Linked DNA regions of Homo sapiens: regions 2 and 3 are each linked to region 1. Evidence: promoter capture Hi-C in human tissues and cell types (Jung and others, 2019). All regions are on one chromosome and are shown on one strand. The core of a region is centred on a gene start or on the middle of the fragment in contact, and the rest is flanking DNA. Distances in the headings are between cores, read along the strand shown. Region 1 holds the start of LMX1B (LIM homeobox transcription factor 1 beta). Region 2 has its middle 68 kb from the start of ZBTB43. Region 3 has its middle 75 kb from the start of LMX1B-DT.

Region 1 (5,124 bases), core at 1-2,500:
GCCGCGGGCCTCGAGCCTTGGCTCGGCGCTGTGCTCTCCCCTTCTCCGGAGAATCCGCGCTCCGTGTTAAGACAAATGACAACGAGCACGGCGCAGGGTGGCCGGCTGGGACCAAGACAGGCGAGGTGAGGCTGGGGCGCTCGCTGGCTGACACGCCCCACGGTGGCGTTCGTGGTCTTCTATCCCCGATCTCCCCAAAATCTGTGGTTTGAGTGACCAGGGAGACGTTTTTCTCTTAGAATCTCCCCCACCCCAGGTGACCTTGCGCCTCTCCCAAGCTCGCCAAGGTGATTGCTAGGTCCTCCATCACCCCTGCCACCCGCCACCTACCACATCGGAGTGGCAGCTCTAGAACCTAAGCCTGGAAAGGATGGTGGGTGGCGACTGGAGCTGTCCTGTCCCCTCAGGACGCCTGCCGGAGGCGTACTTGCGGCCCTCTGGCGATCACTCCAGGAGTCCTGTCTCTGCCTCCTCCCCATGTCCTGCAAACCCATTTCCTTTATCCGTTGGCCCCAACGCCCGTGTCCACAGCCGGACGACGCCCCATCCCACGCCCGAGACCACTCGGGCGTTCCGACCCCGCACTCACCCAGCAGCACCCCCAGAGTGGCGGGCCCGGGGCGCAGGGCGTGCTCCTCCATCTTGATGCCGTCCAACATCTTGGCGCAGTCCGTCTGCCCGCGAGGGAAGCACCTCTCCAGCGACTCGGGACCTGTTGCTATATCCATGGGACGCGGGGCGCGCTGCGGACCCCGCCGGCCGGGCTGCTCGCCCGCCGGCCCGTCCACCCGCTCTCCGCCGCCGCGGCCCTGGAACCGGGGAGGCGCGGCCCCCGCAGGGCAGGGGTTGCGCCGGCCCCCGGCGATCGTGGAGCGGCGACGCGCTGGCCCCGGGCCCCGGCGTCGTGCGGGCGGGCCGGGGCGGCTGCAGCCCGCGCCGCGCTCTCCCGGACACTTGCAGCCACGCGCGCCGGCTCCTCTGTCACCTGCTTGTCAGTCCCGGAACCCGGCGGCGGCGGCTGCTGCAGACGGAGCCGCGGGGAGGAGGCGGCGGCGGCGGTGGCGGTGGCGGCGGCGGCAGGCGGGGGAGGGGGTGGGGGTGCAGGGGCGGCCCCGCGGGCCGCGGGGGGGGCGCGCGGCGCAGCGGGGTCCCGGGCGGGGCGCAGCGGGCCGCGGGGCTCCGGGCGCGCTCCCCGCGCTACTCCAGTGCCATGGTGCGCCCGCTGAGCCGCCGGGTTTAGAGCTGGGGCTGGCGGCGGAGGGATACGGGCCGCCTCACCTCCCGAAACTTCCTGACATTTGAACCCCGCGGCCGGTATCCCTGCGCCGGGATGCGCCGCCGGCTCCACGTCAAATAGTGCCGTCCCGCCCCCCCGCGCGCCCCGGGGCTCCGCGCCCCTGGCCCGCGCCCCGCGCCGCGCCTGGCCCCGAGCTCAGGCCCCGGCTCCCCGGCCCGGCCGCCCCGCGGGCCCCTCGCAGAAGTTTTGATCGTCTTCGAAACAAATCCCTCTGCTCCACCCCCTTGAAAAATTGATTTGGGAGTTGGGGAGCGAAGGCTTTCTTTTTTCTCCTCTGCCTTCTTTATTATTAATATTTTGTAAAGCTCCAGCGCTACGAGGAGTGGCCCCGAGCGAGGCCAGACTGCGCGGACGGCAGGGAGCGCGGCGGCTCCGCCAGGGGACGGCGCCGGCCGGGAGTGGCCGCTTGGGAACCCCCGACTGTCGGCCGAGGTAGGTCGCGGGGGCTGAGTCGGAGTCCCCCGGGCGGCGGCGCCTGCTCGGGGCCGCTTGGTCCGCGGAGAGGGCCGGCTCCCAGGAACGAAGGACGGGGGCGGGCAGAAGGCGAGGACGGCTGGCCCTGGACTCGTGCAAGGGGGGCCCAGGCCCAGGAACGGGGAGTGAGCCTGGAGTGTGGGTGAGGGGTCTGGGAAAGCTCCGGGCCTGGCAGAGATTGGGCGGGGGACTGAGCCGATGGGAGGTTGGGGCCCCGGGATCGAGAATGGGGGACACTGGGACGACAAGGAAGGTCAGGCCTGGGTTCAGGCGACCGAGAGTTTAGAGGACAACTAAGGCTGGAAAAGGGGTCCCCGGGCAGGGGCAGGAGCAGTGGGCAAGACCCGGGCCTCCTAGGGTTTGCAGTGAGGGGCGCTAGGAGGGAGTGGTGGCCCCAGGGTAGCGGCTCTGAAGAAATTAGGTTGGCTGCCAAGATCGGGGTCCTTTGGCGGGTCGGGTGCCCGGCCAGGGGTCGCTGGGACGCGCGGATCAAGGACAGTGCTCTAGCCAGCCTGGGCAAAGTGGACCTCGGCAACGGGACGCGAAAGCTGGCGAGATGGAGCTGCCGACTTCCGCGCCAGCCGGGCCTGGCACCCGCGTCCGGTGCGAGAGGCCACAGCGTCGGACCGGCTGTCTGCGGCCCGTGGTCCCCACCGACGCGCGGCTCACCGGGGAGCAGGGGGGCGGTTGCGGCCCGGGGTAGCGGCGGGCTGACCCCCCGCGATCCGCTGCGGGGCGGCCCCGGCCCCTCCCGGAGCGAGGCAGCGGCGCGGAGCCGGGCGGGGGCGGAGGGCATGGGGGGCGGGTCCCCTGACCTCGCTGGAGGCGAAAGGGCGGATCGGATTTGGAACCTGCGGGAGGCTTGGTCAGAAGTGGCCCCCTGCGCCGCGGGGCCCCGCGGAGGGGCCCGGCTTTGTGGAGGATTAGAGGCTCCCGCCCTACCCTACCTGCGTGTGTGTCGGTGGGTATCTGTGTGTGTCTGTGCGTGTCGGGCCCCCGCCTCTGCGGCTCTTGCCTCCGTGTGCTCCTTGGCTCTGCACACACGGTATGTGTGTCCCTGCAACCTTCCAGACTCCCAGGGGTGAATCTGTGGATCTGTGTCTGAGTCCCCTGCACCCGTGTGTATGTGAATGTGTGGGTCCTTCGTGCCTGTGTCTGGGGTGTGTGTCCGCATCATTTCATGCGGGGGCCTAAGTCTTTGTGCGTGTCTCAGCCTCTGTGTTGTGTCTGCGATCCTTTTCTGTATGGGTGTCTCTGTCAGCTTTGCGTATCTGTGCTTATCTCCGGGGTTCTGAATGCTTCTGTGTGCTCGCGTGTCTCCTAGCGTGTGTGTGTGTGTGTGTGTTTGTGTGTGGTGGGGGGCTTTGTGCCTTCGTGTATTTCTAGGCGCCTTTGTGTGGCTAGGTCGGGGAGAGTGGACAGTCAATGTGGAGTTTCTCTCCCACATCTCGGTCCCCTCTTTGCTTGACCTGGAAACCCCAGGCCTGGACCCGCGAAGTTGGGCTGGGCCTGAGCCGCCTTCTCCGGGCATCTGGGGCGGGGGCGCGGCTGCTGCAGGGAGAAGCCGGGCGGGCAAGGCTTCGGCGCACAGAGCCAGAGTCCCGAGGCGCGGAGCGCGGCTCGGGGCCGGCGGGCGGACCAGGCACTTTCTGCCCTCTGCTGGTCGCGGTCCATCCCTGCAACCGGGGCTGGGCGACTGCCTGCAGGCGAGAGTCCTCGTTCCAGGCCCAGACCCTCTCCCTCTCCTTCAGGGTGCACATGGTAATACTCTCTCGTCACAGGCCCTGCACCCCCAACTCCTGGCGCAAGGCTCCATCCCCTCCCCACCTTCCCTGTGCCTGGCCTCTCCTACCCTACAGCTCTCCTTTCCCCCTCCTTGGCTGAATGAGGGCCCCTGCGATCCAGTCTCCCAGGCTTCTCTAACTCGGGTTGGCGTCCAGTGCCGATCTGGGGCCGCTGGCTGTGCCCAGAGGCGCATTCCCCGGACCACTCGAAGGCCTGGTCTCAAGGCAGGAGGACTTGTGGGAAGTACCCCCTCCGTGCCGCGTCTGGTCTGTCCGGGTGCGCATGCATTCTCAGCGCCTCTTCCGCGCTCCTGCCAGTCATATCCCACGCCACCAAGGCGGATATAGGGTGGTCTGCCGCCATGCGGCCCGCGCCCAGATAGGGGCGCTGGCTCGGTGGACGCCAGAGCCTGGCTGCCTTCTCTGGTCTGGGGTGGGGCTGCTGAGTCCACACCCCTTGGGCCCCTCTGCATGCCTTCCCCGCTGTCCATTCATTCCCCCTACACACACACACACACACACACACACACACACACACACACACACACACACACACACACACACCCTCCCTATAGGCCCCGTTCCTTGCCCTTTGTCCTCACTCCTCGTGTCCCGTGCTCCCAGCTGAGTTGGCCGGTCTCGGGTCCTTCGCACGCAGACGCGCAGGGGTCCCAGATCTCTCCAGCACAATCGGGGCTCCCGCGCCTCTCCACCGCTTCCCTTGCCGAAGAAGCGAAGAAGCGGCCGACTGGACGGCACAGCAGGGGCCGAGGCCCAGAGCCGGCTCCTGCCCGCAGGCGGCGAACGGCACCTTGCTCCGCCAGGCCCCTGCGGGTGTGATCCGTGACCCGCAGATTCTCCCGGGCGCCTCTGGCCCATGACGCGGGGGCTGCTCGCTCCACGCAGGCGGCTTCGGGATGCTCTCCCGCTCAGATTTCAGCGGCAGAAACAGCCTCGGATTCTCTCTACCTGGGGGAAAGACTGAGTCGGGGGCTCGGAATCACTGGAAGAAGCGAGAATGGAAAGGGAGGCTCTGGAGCGGGGGTCCCGGCTCCTTCCAGTCTGCGGACGCCCCAGCTCCATTGAGCCCCGCCCTAGTCCCCCCGCTCCTCTTCTTAGGGCCTTGCACCCTCTCCTCTGCGCTACCCGCCTCCCTCGAGCACGGCTCTATGAGCTGCCCTCCCCCACCCCACCCAGCCCTGTCCATCCCGCTCCGGGCTGTCTGGATTGTTTTGTGCTTCTGACCAGAGCCAGAGCCACACTGCCCCCTCCCAGTTTACCATTCCAGCTGGAGGCACGGATCTGGGGCAGCGCAGGGTGCAGTCCTGGCCGGGTTCGGAGGAGTGGGAAGGCAAGGACCAGGAGCTGCGAGTGTCTCTATTCCACTCTGCCCGGAGAACCAGGGCTGCAGAGAGCCTGGGCCGTCCCACGCTGTCCCGGCGCCATCAGCCCTGCCAAGCCTCAGATCCTTGACAGGCGGCCAGATTGGGGGGACCAGAGCCGCCCAAGCAGTGGGCCAGGTTGGGGGCTGATATTCCTGGGAGGTGGCCCCGGGTCTAGGGTCCTGGG
Region 2 (5,124 bases), core at 842-3,341, 120 kb before region 1:
TAGCAGAGAAGAATCATAATACTCAGGTGGACAGGATGCCCCATTCTCTGGATTCCAGTCAACCTCTCTCCCCAGTTACTCCTGTATGGGATGATGAACTAAGTGGCTATGTAGGCAGGGATGGAGGTTATTCATAGGCTTAGCAACATGGACTTACACTTAACAAAGCTGATCTGGCCACAGTCACTGCTGTGTGCCTGACCTGCCAGCAGCAGAGACCAACACTGAGCCCCCAAGATGGCCCCATTCCTCAGAGGCTCCAGTGGGGGGCCCATTCCCCCCATGTGGTGGCAGTTTGGTTATACAGGCTACTTACAGCATAAAGGGGGCAGCACTTTGTTGCCACTGGAATAGATACTCTGGATGTGGATTTGCTTTCTCTGCTCACAATGCTTCTTTCAAAATCACCATCCACACCTGTCTTAGTCCGTTTTGTGTTGTTATAAAGGGATACTCCCGGAGACTGGGTAATTTACAAAGAAAAGAGGTTTATTTGGCTCATGGTTTTGCAGCCTGTACAGGAAGCATGGTGCCAGCATCTTGTTGTGGTGAGGGCTTCAGGTTGCTTCTACTCATGGCAGAAGGTGAAAGGGAGCCATATGTGCAGAGAGCATGGCGAGAGAGGAAGCAAGAGGGCAGGAGAAGTTCCAGGCTCTTTTTAATGATCAGCTCTCATGGGACCAAATAGAGTGAGAACTCACTCGCTCCTAACCCCTGAGGAGGGCATTAATCTATTCATGGGGGATCTACCCCCATGACCTGAACATCTCCTATTTAGGCCCAATCTCCAACTTTGGGGATCAAATATCAACATGAGATTTTGTGGGGACAAACAAAGCATATTCAAACTATGGCAACAGCCTTATCCACAGTCATCGCATTCTGCACAACATCACTTCTAACCAGAGAAAACTCACTTTACAGAAAATGAGTAAGTGTGGCAGAAGGCTCCTGGCTCATGGAATTCACTGGGCTTATCAGGTTCCCCATTACTCTGTGGCAGCTGGCCTGATAAAATAATGACATGGCTTTTGGAAGACTCAATTATGACACCAGGTGTGTGGCAACATCTTGTAGGGCTAAGGCAGAACCTTCTAAGATATGGTATATGCTCTGAATCATTGTGACCAATATGTGGTCTCATTTGTTCCATAAACAGGATTCAAGGTCCTGGAATCAAAGGGTGGAAATGAGAGTGGCCCTTTTCACTTTTACTCCAATGGTTCACTAGCAAAATTTTTGTTTCATGTCCCTGACACTTGGGGCTCTGCTGGTTTAGAGGTGTTGGTTCCAAAGGGAGGAATGCTCTCATTCGTGGGTATAGATGTGGTTTCATTAAATTGGAAGCTGAGTTTGCCAGCTGGCCACACTGGGCTCTTCACACCAATGAACTAATAGGCAATGAAGGATTTATTGTACTGTTTAGGTTGATTGATCCAGAAATCAGTCCAGAATTTGGATTTCTATAATAAGGGCAGGGAGGAGTTTGTGTGGAATACAAGAAGTCTTTTGTGGGTAACTTTTAGTAGTCTCATGTCCTGGAATAAAGGTTAATGAAGAACCACCACATCCCAATAGAGACAAGGCTGCTAGTGGCACAGACCTTCAGAATGAAAGCTAGGGTCAATCCAGAAGGCAAGGAACCACAACGAGTTGAGTGCTTGATGAGTGCAAAGGGACTATGAACTAGGTGGTTGAAAGAAGGAAATTTAAAACACTGACGATAACTATGTCACCCATTGCAGAAATAAGGACTGCAGTATTTTTTAGTACTCCTTCCATACTTTGATATGAATATATGAATATACATATATATTGACCAATTCTTCAGAAGAATTGTACTCTGAATGTGAAAAGTTTTAGGAATTCATTGATTTCACTTATATTTTCCTCTTATATATTCATGAGAGTAATATATGATAAACATCTATGACAAAATAAATCTAATAGATGTTTTTAAAAAGCTTTCAGTAAGTGTAAAATTGAAGCACTGCATCAGAGTTTTGTTAATCTCATTCTTTCTTGTAAAATGCTTTTCTGTATTTATTGACCATGTGGCTTTTGTCCTTTATTCTATTAATATAGTGCGTTACATTGTTTGACTTTCTTATGTTGAACCAACCTTGTATTCCTAAGATAAATTCCATTTGGTCATAGTGTATACTCCTTTTTAAATGTTAGTGGATTTGGTTTGCTAATATTTTGTTAAGAACTTTTACATGTATATTCATAAGGGATATTGTTCTGTATTTTTCTTTTTGTGTGATTTCTTTGTCGGTGTCTCAGTATCAAGATAATACTGGCTTCATAGAATGCATGGTAACATTTCATCTTCTGTTTTTTGGAAGAGTTTGTAAAGGATTTGTATAAATTCTTCTTCAAACATTTGGTAGAGTTCACCAGTGAAGCCATCTGGTCCTAGGCTTTTCTTTGTGGAAAGTTTTTTATTTCTAATTTGATCCCTTTGTTTGTTATAGGTCTATTCAGACATTCCATTTTTAAATTTAGTTTCAGTAGTTTGTGTCTTTCTAAAAATTTATCCTTTTCATGTAGGTTATTTAATTTGTTCATAGTATTCCCTTATATTCCTTTTTGTTTCTATAAGATCAGTAACATTTTCTTCTTTTTTATTTCTGATTTTAATAATTGAATCCTTTCTTTTCTTGGTCAGTCTGCTAAAGAATTGTCAATTTTGTTGATCCTTTAAAGAAACAACTTTTGGTTTTGTTGATTTTTCTTTGTTGTTTTTCTATTCTTTATCACATTTATTTCCAACTTAATTTTTATTATTTTTTTCTTTCTGCTTTTTTGGAGGTTTAGTTTAATTTTTTTTCTAGTTTCCTAAGGTGGAAGTTTAGGTTCTTGATTTGAGGTCATTCTTTTTAAAAACATGCATTGACAGCTATAAATTTCCCTCTTAGCACTGTTTTAGCTAAGTTTGGTATGCTGTGTTTTTATTTTACTTCATCTCAAAGTATTTTCTAATTTTTCTTTTGAGTTCTTCTTTGACCCATTGGTTATTTAGGACTGTGTTGTTGAAATTTCATAGCGAATTTTCCTAATTTCCTCCTGTTATTGATTCATAATTTCATTTCATTGTGGTTGGAGAAGAGATACCTTGTATGATTCATATATATATATATATATATATATACATATATATATATATATATATATATATACACACACACACTTTTTTTGTCTTATAGTCTATTTTGTCTAATATTAGGATAGCTACTCTAGTTCTCTTCTGGTTAATGTTGGTATGGTATGTATTTTTCCATCCTTTATTATATTATCAATCTATTTGTATGTTTAAATCTAAAGTTTGTCTCTTATAGACGGTATATAGTTGGATCTTTTTTTTAAATAAATGGTTCTCCCAATCTCTGTCTTTTAATTGGAGTGCTCAATCCACTTACATTTAATGTAATTACCGATAAGGTGGTATTTAAATCTATCATTTTGCTATTTGTTTTATATATGTCCTATGACTTTTTTGTTCTTCTATTCCTCTATTACTTCCTTATTTTGTGTTAAATATATTTTTTCCAGTGTATCGTTTCATTGTCTTGTCATTTTTTAAACTTACTTGATTTATTTTCTTAGTGATTGCTCTAGGGATTGTAATTAACATTTTAACTTATAACAATCTAGTTTATATTAGTACGACTACAATGGCATACAAGAACTTTATTCCTGCATATCTCCATCCCCTTCCCCTTCTTTGTGCTATTATTTTCATACAAATTACATCTCTATACATTGAGTGTCCATCAGCACAGATTTAAAATTATTGCTTTATTCAGTTGTCTTTTAAATCATATAGGAGAAAAACGTTACAAACAAAAAAATACATTTATACTATTTTTTAATATTTACCTATGTTGTTACCTTTACCAGTGATTTTTATTTCTTCATGCAGATTGAAATTGTTGCTTAGTGTCCTTGCATTTCTGTCCTTTCATTGGAGGGACTTCCTTTAGTTATTTCTTGTACGGTTATAGCAGACCTACTAGTAATAAATTGTCTAGGATTTTTTTCTTTATGAGGGAATGTTTTAATTTCTTCTTCATTTTTGAAGGATAACTTTGCTAGATATAAAATTCTTGGTTGACTTGGATTTTTTCTTTCAGTACTTTGATATGTCATCTCACTGTCTTCTGGCCTCCATGGTTTCTGATGAGAAATCAGCTGTTAATCTTATTATGGATCCTTGTCTGTAGTGAGTCACTTTACTTTTTGTTTTGTTTTGTTTTGAGACAGAGTCTTGCTCTGTCTTCCAGGCTGGAGTGCAGTGGCATGATCATAGCTCACTATAATCTTGACCTCCTGAGCTCAAGCAATCCTCCTGCTTTGGCCTCCCAAGCAGCTAGAACTACAGGCATGGGACACCATGCCCAGCTAATTTTAAATTTTTTTGTAGAGACAGGGTCTTGCCATGTGTCTCAGGCTGGTCTCAAAATCCTGGCCTCAAGTGATTCTCCCACCTTGGCCTCTCAAAGTGCTAGGATTACAGACATAAGCTACCATGCTGAGTCTACTTCTGATGTTTTTAAGATTCTTTCTTTGTCATAGTCTTTTAATAGTTTATCATGTGTCTAGGCGTGGATCTCTTTGATTTTTATCTGACTTGGAGTTCATTGAGCTTTCTGGATTTGTAGATTAACATTTTTAATCAAACTCAGAAATTTTGGAGCCATTATTTCTTCAGATATTATTTCTGCCCCTTTCTTACTCCTCTCCTAGAACTCCCATTTTACATATGTTGGTTTGCTTGATAATGTCCTGGAGGTCTCTGCGGCTTTGTCCATTTTTCTTCATTTATTTTCTTCACTTTATTCTGTTTCTCATACTAGAGAATCTCAGTTGACCTATCTTCAAGTGTATTGATTCTTTCTTCCACTTGTTCAAATCTGCATTAAGTCCCTCTAGTAAATTTTTTACTTCTGCTATTTTACTTTTTGACTATTCTATTTGGTTCTTTCCTATAATTTCTTTCTTTTTTTGAGAAGGAGTCTTGTTCTGTCACCCAGGCTGGAGTGCAGTGGCACGATCTTGGCTCACTGCAACCTCTGCCTCCTGGGTTCAAGTGATTCTCCTGTGTCAGCATACCGAGTAGCT
Region 3 (5,124 bases), core at 1,701-4,200, 76 kb after region 1:
TGTTTGTTTTTTGAGATGGAGTCTCACTCTGTCACCCAGGCTGCAGTGCAGTGGCGTGATCTTGGCTCAATGCAACCTCTGTCTCCCATCCTGCCTCAGCCTCCCGAGTAGCTGAATTACAGGCGTGCACCACCATGCCAGGCTAATTTTTGTATTTTTGGTAGAGACGGGGTTTCGCCATGTTGGCCAGGCTGGTCTTGAATTCCTGGCCTCAGGTGATCCGTCCACCTCGACCTCCCAAAGTGCTGGGATTACAGATGTGAGCCACCGTGCCCGGCCAAATTCCTAAGTTTTAAATTGCACAATGTTCTCAGTTACATAATGAAACCTCGCGTCATGCTGCTCTTTCCCACCTGGGATGTGAATTATCTCTTGGTCCAGCAGATCCACACAGCCTCTGCTACCTGCCTTCACTACCTGCCCGCTAGTCACTTAGTAGCTGTCTCAGTTATCAGATCAATGTAGTGGTTTCACAATGCTTGTGTTTAAGTCACCCTTATTTTACTTAATAATGGCCCCCAAGTGCAAGTGTACTGTGCTTGATTTGTAAATTAAACTTTATCCTAAGTACGTATGTACAGGAAAAAAAAAATAGTACAACTAGGGTTTGGAACTATCTGAGGTTCCAGGCATCCACTGGGGGGCTTGGACTTTATCCTCCAAGGATAAAGGGGGACTGCCATATGTAAATATGTTTGTGTCATGAAGACAAAAGGAGGAGGACAGTGCGCTAGCATCCAGCATACCCGGGGCAATGCTGTGTCACACAGGCATCCTCGTCATAGCCAGGTCTGGTTCATATACCTGCCACGATGTTCACTCTTTTTTTTTTTTTTTTTTGAGACAGAGTCTCCCTCTTGTTGCCCAGGCTGGAGTGCAGTGGCACAATCTCAGCTCACTGCAGCCTCCACCACCCGGGTTCAAGTGATTCTCCTGCCTCAGCCTCCTGAGTACCTGGGACAACAGGTGTGCACCGCTATGTCCAGCTAATTTGTGTATTTTTAGTAGAGATGGGGTTTCACCGTGTTGGCCAGGCTGGTCTCGAACTCCTGACCTCAAGTGATCCGCCCGTCTTGGCCTCCCAATGTGCTGGGATTACAGGTGTGGCCACCATGCCCGGCTGGCGTTCACTCTTAAGTACAAAGTCTGCACAATATTTAGATTGAGAATGGGCATTAAGCGAGATAGATAATATAAACAGACTTTCCTCATCTGAACCTGTATTCCTAGAATGGTGTATTAGATTTTTAATGTTTTTTTTTCTTTTTCTTTTGAGATGCGGTCTCACTCTGTCATCCAGGCTGAAGTGCAGTGGCATGATCACAGCTCACTACATCCTTGACCTCCTGGGCTCAAGCAATCCTCCCACCTTAGCCTCCGGAGTAGCTGGGATTACAGGTGCACGCTACCACGCCTGGTTAACTTTTGTATTTTTTGTAGAGACAGGGTTTTGCCATGTAGTCCAGGCTGGTCTCGAACTCCTGGGCTTGAGCAATCCGTCCACCTCAGCTTCTCAAAGTGCTGGGATTATAGGCATGAGCCACTGTGCCCAGTCAATATCTTTAATGTTTTGCTACTTTCTCTATGATAGCATTTGATTTTGTGTTTCCTCATCGCTGTTTATAGATGAGATTAGTCATCTATGGGGTTTATAAAGCTGTCTTTGTTGGGTTATGGGATTAGATTTGTACTAAACTCACAAAATTATAAGTGAAACTTCTCATCTTTGGAAAAGTATAAATTACATGTACACTATTCTTTGAGAGAACTGATAGAATCATCTGGGCCTGGTGCCATTTTAGGGTCATCTTTTAAAAACATTTGACTATGCCACGTGCTTTCAACAGTTTCTCAGTGATCACGGGAGAAATTGCAACTTCTCTACCACGACATTAAAGGTACAGCATGATTTACTCTGCCTCAGCTCTTACTATTCTTCACCCCTCTTTTGCTACCCTGGCCACCCCTAGCTTCTGGAAGTTCCCCAACCCTAGAGTGGGAGAGTCACAAGAGCAGGGACCATGTTTATTTTGTTTGGGATGGAATCTCTGGCACCCTGTAGAAGCTTACCTTTGACAAGTATTTGTGGAAGGACATTCACTCTGATAATATCACTGTGTCTTTTAGCTCATGTCAACACATGTTCACTGAGCACCTTTTGTTTCTTTTTTTTGTTGTTGTTGTTGTTGTTTTTGAGATGGAGTCTCACTCTGTTGCCCAGGCTGGAGTGCAGTGCTGTGATCTCAGATCACTGCAATTGCTGCCTCCCAGATTCAAGCAATTCTTGTGTCTCAGCCTCCCGAGTAGCTGGGATTACAGGTGCATGCCACCATGCCTAGCTATGTTTTTCATTATTATTTTTAGTAGAGATGGGGTTTCACCGAGTTGGCCAGACTGGTCTTGAACTCCTGACTTCAAGTGATCCACCCGCCTTGGCCTCCCGAAGTGCTGGGATTATAGGCATGAGCCACCGCCCCTGTCCTCTCTGAGCATCTCTTCTGTGCCTGATCATGTGCTGGTCCTGGAGACAGAGATTCCCAGCCTCTGTCCTCAAGTTGCTCTCTGGCTATTGGGGAACCAGGTGGGTAAACAGGCCTTTCAGTTCAGTGAGAGGGGCGTGACTGGGCCTATGGGAGCACACAGGAGGCCACCTGACCCAACCTGGGTAGGAGAGATCAGAGGTGGCTTCCTGGAGGAGGTGAACCTGGATTTAGTCTTACATAATGAGGAGAAGTGGGGGGTCATTCTAGGATAAGGGGATACCATGAGCCAAAGACCAGAAAGAAGAATCGTCATCTCTCATTGGAAGATAATTGTAGCCACCTCCTAGCCTGTGTCCCGGGGTCTGCCCAAGACTTCCAAATCAGCACGGCAGCCAGAGTGAAGCTTTTGAAATGTGTCTGTCACATCACTCCCCTGCTGAAAACCCACTACTGGCTTCTTAGCTCACTCCAGATAAATTCCAAAGTCCTAAGCATGAACAATCACACCCTACACAATCTGGCCCCTGTGTTTCTCTGAATTTACCTGGTCACTCCATTCCAGCCATTGCTCTTCCTTAGATAGAAAAACAGTCTCAGCTCGGGGCCTTTGCACTGGCTCTTCCTTCTGCCTGGAGAGCCACACCATCTCTTTCTTCAGGTCTCCGCCCAAAGGTCACCAATGAATAAGGTTGTTCTTGACTCCCATATAACACAGCAACTCCCACGGTGACTGTCTTGGTCTTTATCCTGCTTATTTTTCTCCATGCTATTAGGTTGGTGCAAAAGTAATTGAGTTTTTTGACATTACTTTTAATGGCAAAAAAACGCATTACTTTTGTACCAACCTAATAACAATGCCACCTGATATTAGACACACACAATGCACACACACACATACACACACACACACATGCTGCTTTTTAAATTAAAATTTGTTTTAACCTACTAAAATGAAAACTTCAAGAGAACAAGGATTTTGTCTTGTCTACCCTGTAGCCCCAGTACCTGGAATAGCATCTGGAAGAATGCCATCCATCAATGTGAGCAGTTTGGTGTGGCTGGGGCAGGGTGCACCCGAGGGATGGGCAGGCGATGGGGCTGTGTACTCCTAGGCAGCAGCAGGAGGCTGGGCAGAGCCTCAGATGACGGCCGAGGAGCCCGGAACTTCCAGAGGTGACCAGGACCCAGGGAAGGGTAACAGGGTCAGATTCACGCTTGGGGATGGTGGCATTGCCCGTCTGGAGGAGGGCGGGCTGGAGGGGGGGAGTGAGATGGGCAACAGTGAGAGAGAATGACCCCAGTGCAGACAAGAAATGGCAGAGGAGGCAAGACAGCTGCCTGGGCTGCTGGCGGGGCCGTGGGGGATGAAGATGCCATTCTCTGACCCAGGGGCCCTCAAGGGGGAGATTCTATTTTGGGTGTCTAGGAAGCTGGGCCACGGGGCTCATGGAGCTCAGGATAGAGGCCTGGACTGGTAGGAGTGGTTTGGGGGTGGGGATATGGGGAGCATGATGTCACTGGCATTGTTGTCATCATCACTCTTATAATCTTCATCAAAACAAACTTTTATTGAGTGCTTAGTGTGTACCTGGCACTGTGCTCAGAGCTGTGGGCAGAGTTCTTTCTTGGCGTTTCTCTATAACCCAGTAATGTGCTGCTACATGTCTCACAACCTGCTCTCTGGAGGAAAAAAGCCCTGATTTGTGGAGTTTGACCATGTCTATGGTGTAAATACTCCTACTATGGCTGATTTCAAGTGGTGAACATGATGTTACTGCACGTGGAGTTAGGCACAGATGTGCCACAGCTGCCATGATGTGGCATTTCCAACACAGATACAGTAGACATGAGCTCAAGGGCATAGATGATAGGAAAATGAAGTAAACGTATAGGAATGGATGAGTTTGGAGTGTTTATTACCTTTGATTTGAATATCATTTATTTAAGTTTACATAATTTAAATGTTTAACAAAGGCTGTGTTTAACAACCAGCTTGTAACATTAATTCTTGAAAATGTAACCAGCAGCTCTTGCAAACTGACATGGACCGATGCCCACACCCCACTGCTACAATCTCACAATACAGACATACAGACGCAGTCATCAGGGAGGGGAAGGGAGGTCACCCGGCTGGTAAGTGGCAGAGACAGGTGTCCTTGAGCAAGTAATGTTCTGTCCCTGAGCACCAGTTTCCTCACCTGTGAAATGGGGACAGTAAAACGTCCCTTCCGGGTGCTGTGGCGGTTTAATAAGCCAATGCTTATAAAGCAACTGGCATATAGTAAATGCTTCATAAGTGGGGACCGCTAGTGTATTATTGTTATTTTTATTTTGTTCATTTTTGAGACGGAGTCTCACTGTCACCCAGGCTGGAGTGTAGTGGTGCAATCTCGGCTCACTGCAACCTCCGCTTCATAAGTGGGGACCTGACCACTAGTGTATTATTGTTATTTTTATTTTATTCATTTTTGAGATGGAGTCTCACTCTGTCCCCCAGGCTGGAGTGTAGTGGTGCAATCTCAGCTCAATGCAACCTCCACCTCCCTAGTTCAAGCGATTCTCCTGCCTCAGGCTCCTGAATGGCTAGGATTACAGGAGTCTGCCACCACGCCTGGCTAATTTTTGTATTTTTAGTACAGAT

The links. The method cuts DNA at HindIII sites, captures the fragments that hold promoters and counts their contacts. A contact is called where the count stands out against the background at its distance.
Region 2: a contact is called between a fragment that was not itself captured here and the fragment with the promoter of LMX1B in region 1, in 2 of the 25 tissues and cell types used here (lymphoblastoid cells and mesendoderm cells).
Region 3: a contact is called between a fragment that was not itself captured here and the fragment with the promoter of LMX1B in region 1, in 2 of the 25 tissues and cell types used here (bladder and heart right ventricle).

Annotation. Positions count from the first base shown.
Region 1 is chr9:126,610,054-126,615,177 of GRCh38, reverse strand. LMX1B (LIM homeobox transcription factor 1 beta) reads right to left here and starts at 1,250. Exons shown (of 8, transcript NM_001174147.2): 1 at 590-1,250. The coding sequence starts at 728. It overlaps LMX1B-DT (LMX1B divergent transcript), which reads left to right and starts at 1,379. Exons shown (of 2, transcript NR_184148.1): 1 at 1,379-1,729. RefSeq lists enhancers at 1-516, 517-1,098, 1,354-2,322, 4,266-5,124 and a silencer at 3,475-3,544. The HindIII fragment of the contact is 15,813 bases long and covers 1-5,124 here.
Region 2 is chr9:126,734,746-126,739,869 of GRCh38, reverse strand. No RefSeq gene overlaps it. Among named protein-coding and RNA genes, the nearest start is that of ZBTB43, 68 kb to the left of the region's middle. The HindIII fragment of the contact is 4,205 bases long and covers 1-4,193 here.
Region 3 is chr9:126,535,798-126,540,921 of GRCh38, reverse strand. No RefSeq gene overlaps it. Among named protein-coding and RNA genes, the nearest start is that of LMX1B-DT, 75 kb to the left of the region's middle. RefSeq lists enhancers at 3,248-3,748, 3,749-4,249, 5,075-5,124. The HindIII fragment of the contact is 4,997 bases long and covers 452-5,124 here.